Regions from separate parts of the Homo sapiens genome. Here all the other regions are linked to region 3. The links are contacts of gene promoters, found by promoter capture Hi-C in blood cells and fetal thymus (Javierre and others, 2016). All regions are on one chromosome and are shown on one strand. The core of a region is centred on a gene start or on the middle of the fragment in contact, and the rest is flanking DNA. Distances in the headings are between cores, read along the strand shown. Region 1 overlaps MTHFD2L (methylenetetrahydrofolate dehydrogenase (NADP+ dependent) 2 like). Region 2 has its middle 7.8 kb from the start of MTHFD2L. Region 3 holds the start of COX18 (cytochrome c oxidase assembly factor COX18). Region 4 holds the start of EPGN (epithelial mitogen).

Region 1 (2,722 bases), core at 113-2,612, 1.1 Mb after region 3:
ATGCTATTGGTCTTCTCTGACAATCTCCAGGTCACGCAGATTTGTACTGTCTAGGACATAATTAGCCTAGATTATACTCAGTGATTGCCAGCTTCACAGTGGCCTGTGAACAAATTATTTTGTTTAATGTGAGTGAATCAATAATGTGTCAGCAGTAGCATCACTACTCACATGCTATAAAATGCAAGACAGAGTTCAGATGTTTTTATATTTTAAAATAGAATGTATATTCCTTACTGTGTTAGGTGATTACTAGTTTTTTTAACAGATGAATCTGCTTCTATAATAGTGTTCTACCCCAAGAAAATATTGCTGACACAAATTGATTTATGGAAAGTTTTATTTGCTACTACCTATAAATGAGTTGTGCTGGAATTTGTTGCTGTATCTGCAGTTCTTAGTATTTGCTAATATAAAAGATCCTTGTTATCTTAGTGCCAAAAGGCTACTTAAATGAATTCATAAAATATCCTTACCAGAAATTCATAGGAAACAGTGAAAAAAGTTTGTTACTTTACTTTGAAAAATAAAAACCTCAAAAGTTTTATTTTATTTTAACTTGATTTGCTTATAATTACATACAAAGTATTGGAAGGTACAAAGCACAAGCTACAAAAATCACTCAAGAAATATTAGATAACCTGAATTGCCCTCTATATTAAGGAATTTAAGTTTGTAGGTTTAAACCTTCCCAGAAAGAAAACCCCAGAATCAGATAGCTTCATGGGTGAATCCTACCAAACATTTAAGCGAGAAAAAAATGCCAATTCTTTACACACTCTTCCGGAAATTTGAAGAGGATAGAATTCTTCCTAACTCATTCTATGAAGCTAGCATCATCCTGGTATCAAAGCTACATGATAACATTATAAGAAAAGAAAACTACAAACACCTCTTATGCATGTAGATGCAACAATTTTAACAAAATTTCAGATGAAATCCATGATAGTCTGGAAAGGATAGATACATAATAACCAACTGGGATGTATCCCAGGAATGCAAGTTTGATTTAACATTTGAAAATTGATCAGTTACCATATTAACAGACTAACACTCGAGAAAAACATATGATCATCTCAATAGACATAAAAAACACTTGGCAGTAGCCTCATACAAATTCTCACCAAACTAAAAATAGACATAAATCATAAACTGAATGTATAACTTAGGCCCATAAAACATCTAGAAGAAAACGCTGGAGAAAACCTTTGTGACCTTGAATTAGGCAAAGATTTCTTTTATACAACACTAAAAGCATGGTCCATAAAAGGAAAAAATAATAAATTGGAGTACATTAAAATTAAGAACTGTTCTAAAAACATGAGAATAAAAAGGCAAAGCACAGACTGGGAGACAATATTTCAAACCCCATATCTGATAAAGGACATGAATCTAGGATACACAAAGAACTTTAAAAAAACCCAAATGTCCAACAACGAAAGACTGGATTAAGAAAATGTAGCACATATACACCATGGGCTACTATGCAGCCATAAAAAATGATGAGTTCATGTCCTTTGTAGGGACATGGATGAAACTGGAAACCATCATTCTCAGCAAACTATCGCAAGGACAAAAAACCAAACACTGCATGTTCTCACTCATAGGTGGGAATTGAACAATAAGAACACATGCACACAGGAAGGGGAACATCACACTTCGGGGACTGTTGTGGGGTGGGGGGAGGGGGGAGGGATAGCATTAGGAGATATACCTAATGCTAAATGACAAGTTAATGGGTGGAGCACACCAACATGGCACATGTATACATATGTAATAAACCTGCACATTGTGCACATGTACCCTAAAACTTAAAGTATAATAATAATAAAATTAAAAAAATTCAAAATAGGAAACAACCTACTAAACAATGGGCAAAAGACTTAATTATTTAATTCACTAAAGAAGATCACAGATGGCAAATAAGCATATGAAAAGATGTTCAACATCAGTATTCGTTAAGGGAATGCAAATTTAAAGCACAGTGACATACCACCATATGTCCACTAAAATGTCAACAGTTTTAAAACCTGACCATCTGAAGTGATGACAAGTATATGGAGCAACCAGAACTCATATAGTGTTTGAAGGAATGCAAAGTTGCAAAGTGGTACAGTGTTTTTGTAACGTAACAGTTTTTAACGTATTTAAACATACACTTACGATGTGACCTAGCCATTCCCCTTTGAGATATTTGCTCAAAAGAAATTAAAGCGGCCAGGAGTGGTGGCTCACACCTGTAGTCCCAGCATTTTGGGAGGCCAAGAGGGGCAGATCACTTGCAGCCAGGAGTTCGAGACCAGCCTGGCCAACATAGCGAAACCCCGTCTCTACTAAATATACAAAAATTAGTCAGGCATGGTGGCATATGTCTGTAATTCCAGCTACTCTGGAGGCTGAGGCATCAGAATCATTTGAACCCAGGAGGCGGAGGTTGTAGTGAGCCGAGATCTTGCCACTGAACTGCAGCCTGGGTGATGGAGACCCTGTCCCCCACAAAAAAAATATTTTAAAGCATATGTGTACAAAATATATTAAAGCATATGTGTTATAAAATGTTTGTAACAGCTGTATTTGTCATGATCAAAAACTGGAAAGAACCCGAATATCCATTAATTACAATCGAATGGATAAACAAATATTGGTATATCCATACAATGTAATACTACTCAGCAATAAAAAAGAAATGAACCATTCAAACATGCAACTATGTGAATCAATT
Region 2 (2,700 bases), core at 16-2,515, 1.1 Mb after region 3:
GGAGTGTGAGAGAAGGGGAAACCCAGTGTATTTTTCTTCTTATCTTTCTGCTGTCTCCCTTGTGGACATAGCTTCCTCTGATCAATCATTGCTTAGATAGTTCCAGGTCCTGCAAGGAAGACTTTGCCATGATTCCAGCTCTCATTAGATAGTTTTATCTTCTCAATTCTGATAGTGCCACTTGCTCCATCCAGTTGTCTCTCCAGATTTAGCAGTTTCAGTGGTTTCCTGCTGTTGGGTTATTTTGTATCCTTTTTGGCTTCTAAGTTCTTCCATTATCTACTTAATTAAATCCCTATATTAAATTTCCTTTATTTGAAATACCTACAGTGTTTTCTGTTTCCTCCTAGATTCTGCCTAATACAAACTCAGACATCTGTTAATAGGCTGCTGAAAAACTAAATGCCCCTATTTAATAATATTTAGCAGAAAAAAATGAATGAATTATAGCTACATGCAACAAAATAAATATGTTTTGGAAACACGGAGTAAAAGGGAAAAAGCAAGTGCTTGAAGACTGCATCCAGCTCAATATCATATGTTAAACTCAAATAACAAAACAAAAACCAAGGAAGACTGAGCATTATGTTGTTAAAAGATGTATTTGTGATTAAATTATTTTTAAATCAAAACGATTAAACTACAAAATTCAAGACAATGATTACCTCTGATAAAAAATTTGGGATATGAAAGAAGCACCTAGATTTATTCATTGATATCAGAAAGGTTCTAATTCCCACGTTGTGTGGTAGGTTCAGGAATATTCTTCTTGTTGTTATGCTTCATAATTTGCAAGGGTGTTATGTGTTGTGGTAGGTAGAAGAGTGCTCCCCCCAAAAAATGTTTATATCCTAGGTTTCAAAACTTGTGAATATATCACCTTACATGGCAAATGGTACTATTACAGATGTGATTATGGTTTGTAACTTTGAGATATGGATATTATCTTGAATTAACCTAGTGGGCTCAATCAAATCATGAGGCCTTTAGAATAGAGACCCTCCCCTGGCTGTAGTAAGTAAAAGAGAGAGACAGAGAAAGAGAGAGAAATAATGGAAGAAGAGTAAGAGAGGGATTTCGACATTCTTGGCTTTGAAGATGGGGGAAGGGTGCCAACAAGCCAAAGAAAGTGGGTAGGTTGTCTACAGAACACGCAAAAAGGAAGGAGATGGATTCTCCTTAGAGCCTCCAGAAGGAATACAACCCTAATTGACTATAGCCCTGTGAGACTCACACCAGACTTCTATCTTAAAGAAATGTAACACCATAAGTTTTTGTTGTTGTTGTTTGTTTTTGAGACAGAGTTTTGCTCTTTTTGCCCAGGCTGGAGTGCAATGGTGCGATCTCAGCTCACTGCAACTTCCACTTCCCAGGTTCAAGCGATTCTCCTGCCTTAGCCTCCTGAGTAGCTGGGATTACAGGCATGCGCCACCATGCCCAGCTAATTTTGTATTTTTTAGTAGAGACGGTGTTTCTCTATGTTGGTCAGGCTGGTCTCAAACTGCCGACCTCGGGTGATCCGCCCGCCTAGGCTTCCCAAAGTCCTGGGATTACAGGCGTAAGCCACCGTGCCTGGCCAAGTTTGTATTATTTAAACCACTAAATTTGTGATAATTTATTATAGCAGCAATCAAAAGCCAATGCATATATATTATTTGCATATTATTTTCTGCTCCAAACATTATCCCATAACTTAAAAAAATTAACATATGTTGTTTTAAATGACACACATCAAAACAAAGTGAAACAAAATTTAAATGTAAAAAGATACAGGTATACATGTGTATATGTATACGTGTGTGTGTGTATATATATATAAATATATACATGTGACACTTTTCATATTAAAACTAAACAAGGATAGGAGTAGCAATGTCTAACAATTACCATGGAAAACAAGAAGGCTTAACAAAATAAAGAAGGCCATTATATAATGATAATAGATAAACTATATGGAATCTGTAATAATCATTATCCCATATTCACTGATGAAATAATGCTATAATATGTAGTAAAAAATAAAGAAAAATTGGGTTCTTTACATCATTCTTAGTCTTTAAAAAGTTGAACAGAGGAATTAGAAAAAAGACAATCATTGTAACATTGGTTATATATTGACATGTATATAGATATATACAGTATATATAGTTAACATTATATTCTAAACCAGGTGCACTTTTTATACAGTTAATGGTATTATAAGACCACAAATAAACTATCAATAAGTTATTAAAATATGAAACTGGTAGTCACATTAATTATCATGAAATAAAACTTGGTAATCAATTTTTCAATAGAATCCACCATTCATTGGAAAATTAAAAATTATTTTCTCCTTATTACACAGATTCAAATCAAAAATCAATTTTATAGTTACAGAAGATTGTATAAATGACTAAAATGCAGACATTGGGATGAGTTCTCTGTACCTTAGCGATGTAGCATGCAAACTTTTCCAGGAGAACCTTAGATTTAGAAAAGCACTGCAGTTAGAAGTGTGGGCACTGGTTTCACACTACCTGAGACTTGAACTCCACTTTCATCACTTGATAGCTGTAGGTCTTGGCAAGTTATCTAGCCTATTTTACCTGTTTCCTCATAGCTTCATTGTGGTAAGGGTTAAAAGAATAACTTCTGAAAAGTGTTCAGCACAGCCTTGGCACATAGCAAATTCAGGGAAACATATGCTGTTATTATTAT
Region 3 (2,700 bases), core at 42-2,541:
AAGAACTGCACCCTGGGCTTTACTGTTCCATCTCTACATTTCCTAGTAACGTAAGCGGAGAAAACAGCAGTTTGTTAAGAACCTTTAATACACTGTGATAGCCACAAATCAAAAGTAAAAATAGCATTTATTCCTGCCCTGTGCTCATTCTTCCTGTAAAATGGCTCACTGCCTTAATGTTGCTGCTGATTCCGTTCCTGTTTTGTTTCCGGTTTTTTTTCCCCATGCTCACAACCTGAAAACAAGAAAGCCACTATTTTTGAAATATCCCATTTGAATAATCAAGCACTTTAACCCGTATTATCTGACTTGCTCTGATAACGCTGTGAAGTAGGCAAGGAAGGTACTGCTAGCCTGATTCCTCAGAAAAAAGGATTCAGCATTAAAAGGTCAAGTAACTGCGACCAACCAGACACAGTCTTAGTCGGGTCTGGAGAGGAAACAAGTTCGCAAACTGTTAGTCTAGTAGTTTCTTCCTAATAAGAAAGACCAGCTGGAATACTTTGGGACGAAAGACACTGCAGACATACTGGCTATTAAAACTTTTAAGACATAAATTTTGTAGGTTTCGCCAACACAATTTCTTCTGCGACTGATTTCTTTGTCTCCGTTCCCCGAGAGCAAGTATAGTAACCACTTGTGCTTGGAGCACAAATCCAGTAAGACAAAAGAAATGACAGGTACACGTGTCACAAAGTATCTTATTTAACACACCTAATGCTAGTTCAATTTTTTTTAACGCTAAAATGGTCACAATGAAATGGTCACGATGATTAAACACTAAGCACTGCAGAAGGCAACATCGTGCGATCGAAAACCCTGAGTGAATGTCGGCCTTCCTCCGCCGCAGGGGTTGCAGCGCAGGGTACGCGCACGGCTCGGCGCCCCTCACCTTGGCCAGGATGTAGTGCTGGTAGGCTGCCAAAGGCAGCGTGACAGCACCCCGTAAGGCCACGGTGGAGAGCAGAATGCTGCCCCACCAGGGCAGGCCCGTGGCGGCGTGCACGCCGAGCAGTACTTCCTCCGCAACCCGCACCGGCGAAGACGCGGCCAGGGCCTCGTACCAGCCGTTCGCATGTACTGCAGAGACTGGTGCCACTGCCCACACTGGGAGAGTGGGGCGCTTGGCGCCGCTCGTAGGAACCGGCGCAAGCGGCAGGTCCCTAGCCCAAAGCTGCAGGGCAGGGAGCGGCCGCAGCCACCGACCGCCGAGCCGGCACAGCATTTCTGCACCACGGCGGAGCCCAGATCCCGGGCCTCACAATCCAGCGGACATACACCGGCCAGCCAAGGCTGATACGCGCACGCGCCAGCAACAGCGGGCATAAAGCGCATGCGCGCCTGCCTGCAGCCGCGATTGACCTTCCCAGTCAAGCCGGTGACGTCTTGCGTCGCAGTGGATGTGACGCAAGAGATAGGAAAGTCCCGCCTTTCCCACGCGGCACTGGACAGGCCTACTGCGCACACGCGAAAGTTTCCCGCTGCTAGGGTGTAGTTAGTCCGAGGCCGGACCAAAACTGCAGAGACATGGGTGGAGCCTGCTGCCCTCCGCCAGGCTGGGTGTTCTTTAGGGAGCTCTCGCCTTGTAAAGTTCATCTACACCGTGTAACTTACCATTCTTTTTCACTAAAGCTAATAGTCATTTGTAGTGGAATTATCCTTGCTCGGTTTTTTGTGACCAGAAGCTGATCCCCAACCTCTTTACGTGCACCTGATTGCTTCCGTTAGCGATTACGATAGATTATCATACTCAAGAGTCACACGTTGCTAAAGTACCTGCTTGTAGAGAGACGCATGTTTCTTGCTGACTCTGAGTGTTAAGCACGAGGGATAGTTCAGTCTCTTGTAGATTTAATTGGCCCATCTGTTCCAGTTAGTATTTGGACCACCAACTGCAAACTGAATTTCTTCGGTGTTTTGTCTTCCATGATAAATAGCAGCAAAAATCTTATAGTAAAAGTATCATCTCTTTATTTAAGGGAAACTATCACTGGCAGTACGGTGAATTCCTTGAGTTTACTTGTATCCTATATAAGCTTTAAAGAGCCTGAACAGCAGCACTGGCTGTCTTCTGGTTTAAAGGAATACGTTGAATCTACATGGACTATATAGTTTTAACTTTTGTGTTCCTGGAAACAACAAAATGGAATGTTGTGGAGGAGTTTCCTCACCGAAGGGTCACCCCTAGACTACAGACTAAAATATGTTGTGAGGAGTAAACCTTGATTTTTATTTATTTATTTATTTACTTACTTAGGAAAAGAAGCCTCCAACAATGTTGGGTAATGTCAAACGCCAGCTATTGTTTGCCCTTCACTGTGCACCTAACCAAGGGTACCCTACGATAACTTTCTCAGGATTCTGGAATTCATCTGCTTTCCAAACTGACTGATAAATCTATACATGAATTTTTAAATGTGTTTAAACACACAGCACAACACACACTATATATAAACTTTTTCTAAAAGAAAAACCTACCAATCTATTTCTTTATCCATTTATTAAGCTAACAAAAAAGCCATCAGTTGCTACTGACTACTGTTCAGCTGTTCATAATCTGAACAGAATTTTAAAGTTATTTTTGCTAGACACAGTGGATCACGCCTGTAATCCCAGCACTTTGGGAGGCCAAGATGGGAGGATACCTTAAGGGCAGAAGTTAGAGATCAGCCTTGGCAACATGGCAAGACCTCATCTCTA
Region 4 (2,898 bases), core at 197-2,696, 1.2 Mb after region 3:
CTACAAAAAGAATTGTGATGGTTTATTTAATCTTTTGTAAATGATTTCTTTTTAAATTCTCAGCAATGGTGCAAAGACGATTGTTCAATTTATAATTCAAATGTTATTTGCCTGGGAAATATATTATCTAGAAATCGACTTAGTAATCAACAGTTTTTTAAAAACCTACAAAAGTAGAAATGCAAAATGTAGACACATTTAAAGCGAGCCAAGTACTATTATATTATTTTAACTTTAAAATGATGACTCCTGTGGCAAGTGATTGCCCAAGTTATAATGAGTTCAACAAGCTTGTTCTTGTGTGATTTCTAACACCACATTTATATTTGAATAGTGAAAGGGCTCCTTTCTGGTAAATCTAATTTGCTGAGTGGACATGATGCAAAAGATAACCTATCTTGACTTGAATATGTTTTTAGGGTTTTGAGGTTTCAAGTTTCAAGAAAATACAAGGAATTGAAATTCCAGACAGAAAGACTCAATGCCTCAGGAAGATATATTTATAAATCATTTATATTAATTTGGGGCAAGTGAAAATTTCTGTAGTTGTAAAATATAGTAGCTGTAATGACATATTTTGGCCTTTAAAGTGCCACTTTAATAATTACAACTAGATGAACTTGAGAAATAATTTGAATGTTGTATTAACTTAGAAACTTTCTATTCATTGGATGTATCCAAACTAAATGTCATCTTAATTTTCTCTTAATGGAGAATTTTAATATTATTATTATTGCTATTATCATTATGTTGGTACTTTACTGGTTCTCTGTAGCTTAATCATTGGGATGCAGATTTAAGCATTGTTGTTCCTGGAATATGGCAGCCCATTTCATTTACTCAGAAAAATGTTAAATAGCAGGATGACAGAAAGGTGAATATTATACTATTAAAAATAATTTTATTTACAGCACTTGTCATAGTAACACTAAGAAACAAACACTAAAATGGAATATGAAACCTCTGTGTTTTCACAAATTTAACTGTTCTCTGCAACTAAATTAACAAATTATCTTGATTTGAAATGGAACTTATAGTCTGTAATAAAAGGTGGTATAACCAACTATAGTTTCAGGTATATTTCTTTTAGAAACAGGTTATGCTGCTTCCTAATTTGCAGTTATGTTTGTTGAACTCCCGTATAGGTTTCTAGCATAGTTTGAGCTGGTATAGTTCTCTTCACACCAATGGGAGCCTTTCCTGAAATTACATTTTGTTCTTGTTGTTTTAAGTACTTTTACATACATGATTATGCCCACAGGTAACAGGAAACCAGTGTTTCAAAAGAAAACTTGATCACATTGCTAGATAATACAGGTATCCTAACCAAGTGCGTGAGCGCCCAGAGGCTTTCTGCTGCTGCCAGAAGTACATATTTTTTTGATTGGTAAGAACTGCCAGATGACGCTTCATGAAATATAAATGCAACAAAGACTCAGAGAGCTCAATAAAAACCTTCCACCCGTCAGTCTAGAAGGATAAGAGAAAGAAAGTTAAGCAACTACAGGAAATGGCTTTGGGAGTTCCAATATCAGTCTATCTTTTATTCAACGGTAGGTAATTTCCTTTTGTTTTGTTAACTTTATATCAGTGTAAAATGTGAATAGAATTTATTTTCTCTGCATTAGAGAGAAGTTGGCTTCTAACAGTTGTTCTTTATGACAAAGATCAGAGTAATGAATCTGTGGATTAATTTAGTTTCTTATGTCCTGTATGTTCCTTTCCTAATATATTTTGACACCTTTTTTGAGACCTCCAGAATGTTTGCTTTATACAATTGAAGAGTAATTGATACATTTAGCTACTATACTATAGGGTTCTTATTTTTTAATTAATATGTAAATGTATCAATGGTCTTAAATATTGGGTTTTTATTTGCTTTAATCCTAATATAGTCAATGGAATGGATGAGAAACTGTAAGTATGTTGCCCTAGTCACGTTATGGATTTCAACTGTAATAAATTAAAAAAATAGAAATTGGAATAAACAGAATAAGAATACTTTCCATCTGTTGCTTGTACATAGAAGGAGGCTCTCTGTTAAAGATGCTTTTGCCCCCTTAATACAGCAATGACAGCACTGACCGAAGAGGCAGCCGTGACTGTAACACCTCCAATCACAGCCCAGCAAGGTAACTGGACAGTTAACAAAACAGAAGGTATTTTCTTCCCATTTTCATATTTCACAAGACTTTTCTAAAACTTGGGAGAGAAATTTGGATTGTGATAAAAGCAATATTGGCCATTTTTAATATATATTTTATTATTAGATAATCAGCTCTTTTAGCAGGATGCTGTTAAATTGAAGTGACAGATAAATGTGCCAGGAAATAATTGCCTTTTTAAAAGGAGGAAGTTAAGCAAATGAGACAAAAGCTGTCTTCAGTTACTGTCTTGAATGTGAAACAGGCCACATTTTCTGCTTCATTTCTGCTTGGTTCCCAATAACCCCTGTGTGTACAGAGACAGTTTGTCCCCATTTTGGCATTCTTGATGAGCAGCATTATATTTTGATCTGTGATTATAAGCTTTGATGCCAAAGACATTATGGCTACAAGATGAACAGCACTTTCCCTCATCTTTGGAATGACCTTTTTTTCTTGTTTGCTTTGGAGTTTTTGTTGTTATTTTAGCATATGCTGTATTTCCTAACCACTTGTACCCAATTTTTGTTGTTGATGGTAATGATATATTTTCTTTTGCACTTAATTATTATCACAGTGGCTTCTGGATGCTCTTGAGCATCAGCGTTCTTTCTCTAATCTGTTTAAACTCTTAGAGGTGAAACTTGGAAAGCTTGTTGCTTACCAAGACCTGTGACTGAGTGGTTATGATTCTTCTGCAAATCGCATCCTGATTGCTATGTGAAGGCTGGCAATTTGATTTAGGACAGAGGAA

The links. Contacts are between HindIII fragments. The CHiCAGO score rates a contact against its expected background, and 5 or more counts as called.
Region 1: a fragment that was not itself captured here is called in contact with the fragment with the promoter of COX18 in region 3 in 3 of 17 cell types (total B cells, monocytes and fetal thymus); the score reaches 7.5 in total B cells.
Region 2: a contact is called between a fragment that was not itself captured here and the fragment with the promoter of COX18 in region 3, in 1 of 17 cell types (fetal thymus). The highest score is 6.2, in fetal thymus.
Region 4: a contact is called between the fragment with the promoter of EPGN here and the fragment with the promoter of COX18 in region 3, in 1 of 17 cell types (total CD4 T cells). The highest score is 6.2, in total CD4 T cells.

Annotation. Positions count from the first base shown.
Region 1 is chr4:74,169,306-74,172,027 of GRCh38, forward strand. All of the region lies in intron 1 of MTHFD2L (methylenetetrahydrofolate dehydrogenase (NADP+ dependent) 2 like), which reads left to right. Among named protein-coding and RNA genes, the nearest start is that of MTHFD2L, 13 kb to the left of the region's middle. The HindIII fragment of the contact is 8,326 bases long and covers 1-2,722 here.
Region 2 is chr4:74,148,976-74,151,675 of GRCh38, forward strand. It overlaps a transcript of MTHFD2L not described here. Among named protein-coding and RNA genes, the nearest start is that of MTHFD2L, 7.8 kb to the right of the region's middle. The HindIII fragment of the contact is 4,121 bases long and covers 1-2,700 here.
Region 3 is chr4:73,068,425-73,071,124 of GRCh38, forward strand. It overlaps COX18 (cytochrome c oxidase assembly factor COX18), which reads right to left and starts at 1,292. Exons shown (of 6, transcript NM_001297732.2): 1 at 893-1,292. The coding sequence starts at 1,225. LOC112268467 (a long non-coding RNA gene) reads left to right here and starts at 1,522. Exons shown (of 2, transcript XR_002959797.2): 1 at 1,522-1,605. RefSeq lists enhancers at 611-1,126, 1,061-1,580, 1,127-1,643. The HindIII fragment of the contact is 3,732 bases long and covers 1-2,034 here.
Region 4 is chr4:74,307,024-74,309,921 of GRCh38, forward strand. EPGN (epithelial mitogen) reads left to right here and starts at 1,447. Exons shown (of 5, transcript NM_001270989.2): 1 at 1,447-1,553; 2 at 2,070-2,159. The coding sequence starts at 1,511. All of the region lies in intron 2 of LOC105377276 (a long non-coding RNA gene), which reads right to left. The HindIII fragment of the contact is 2,238 bases long and covers 289-2,526 here.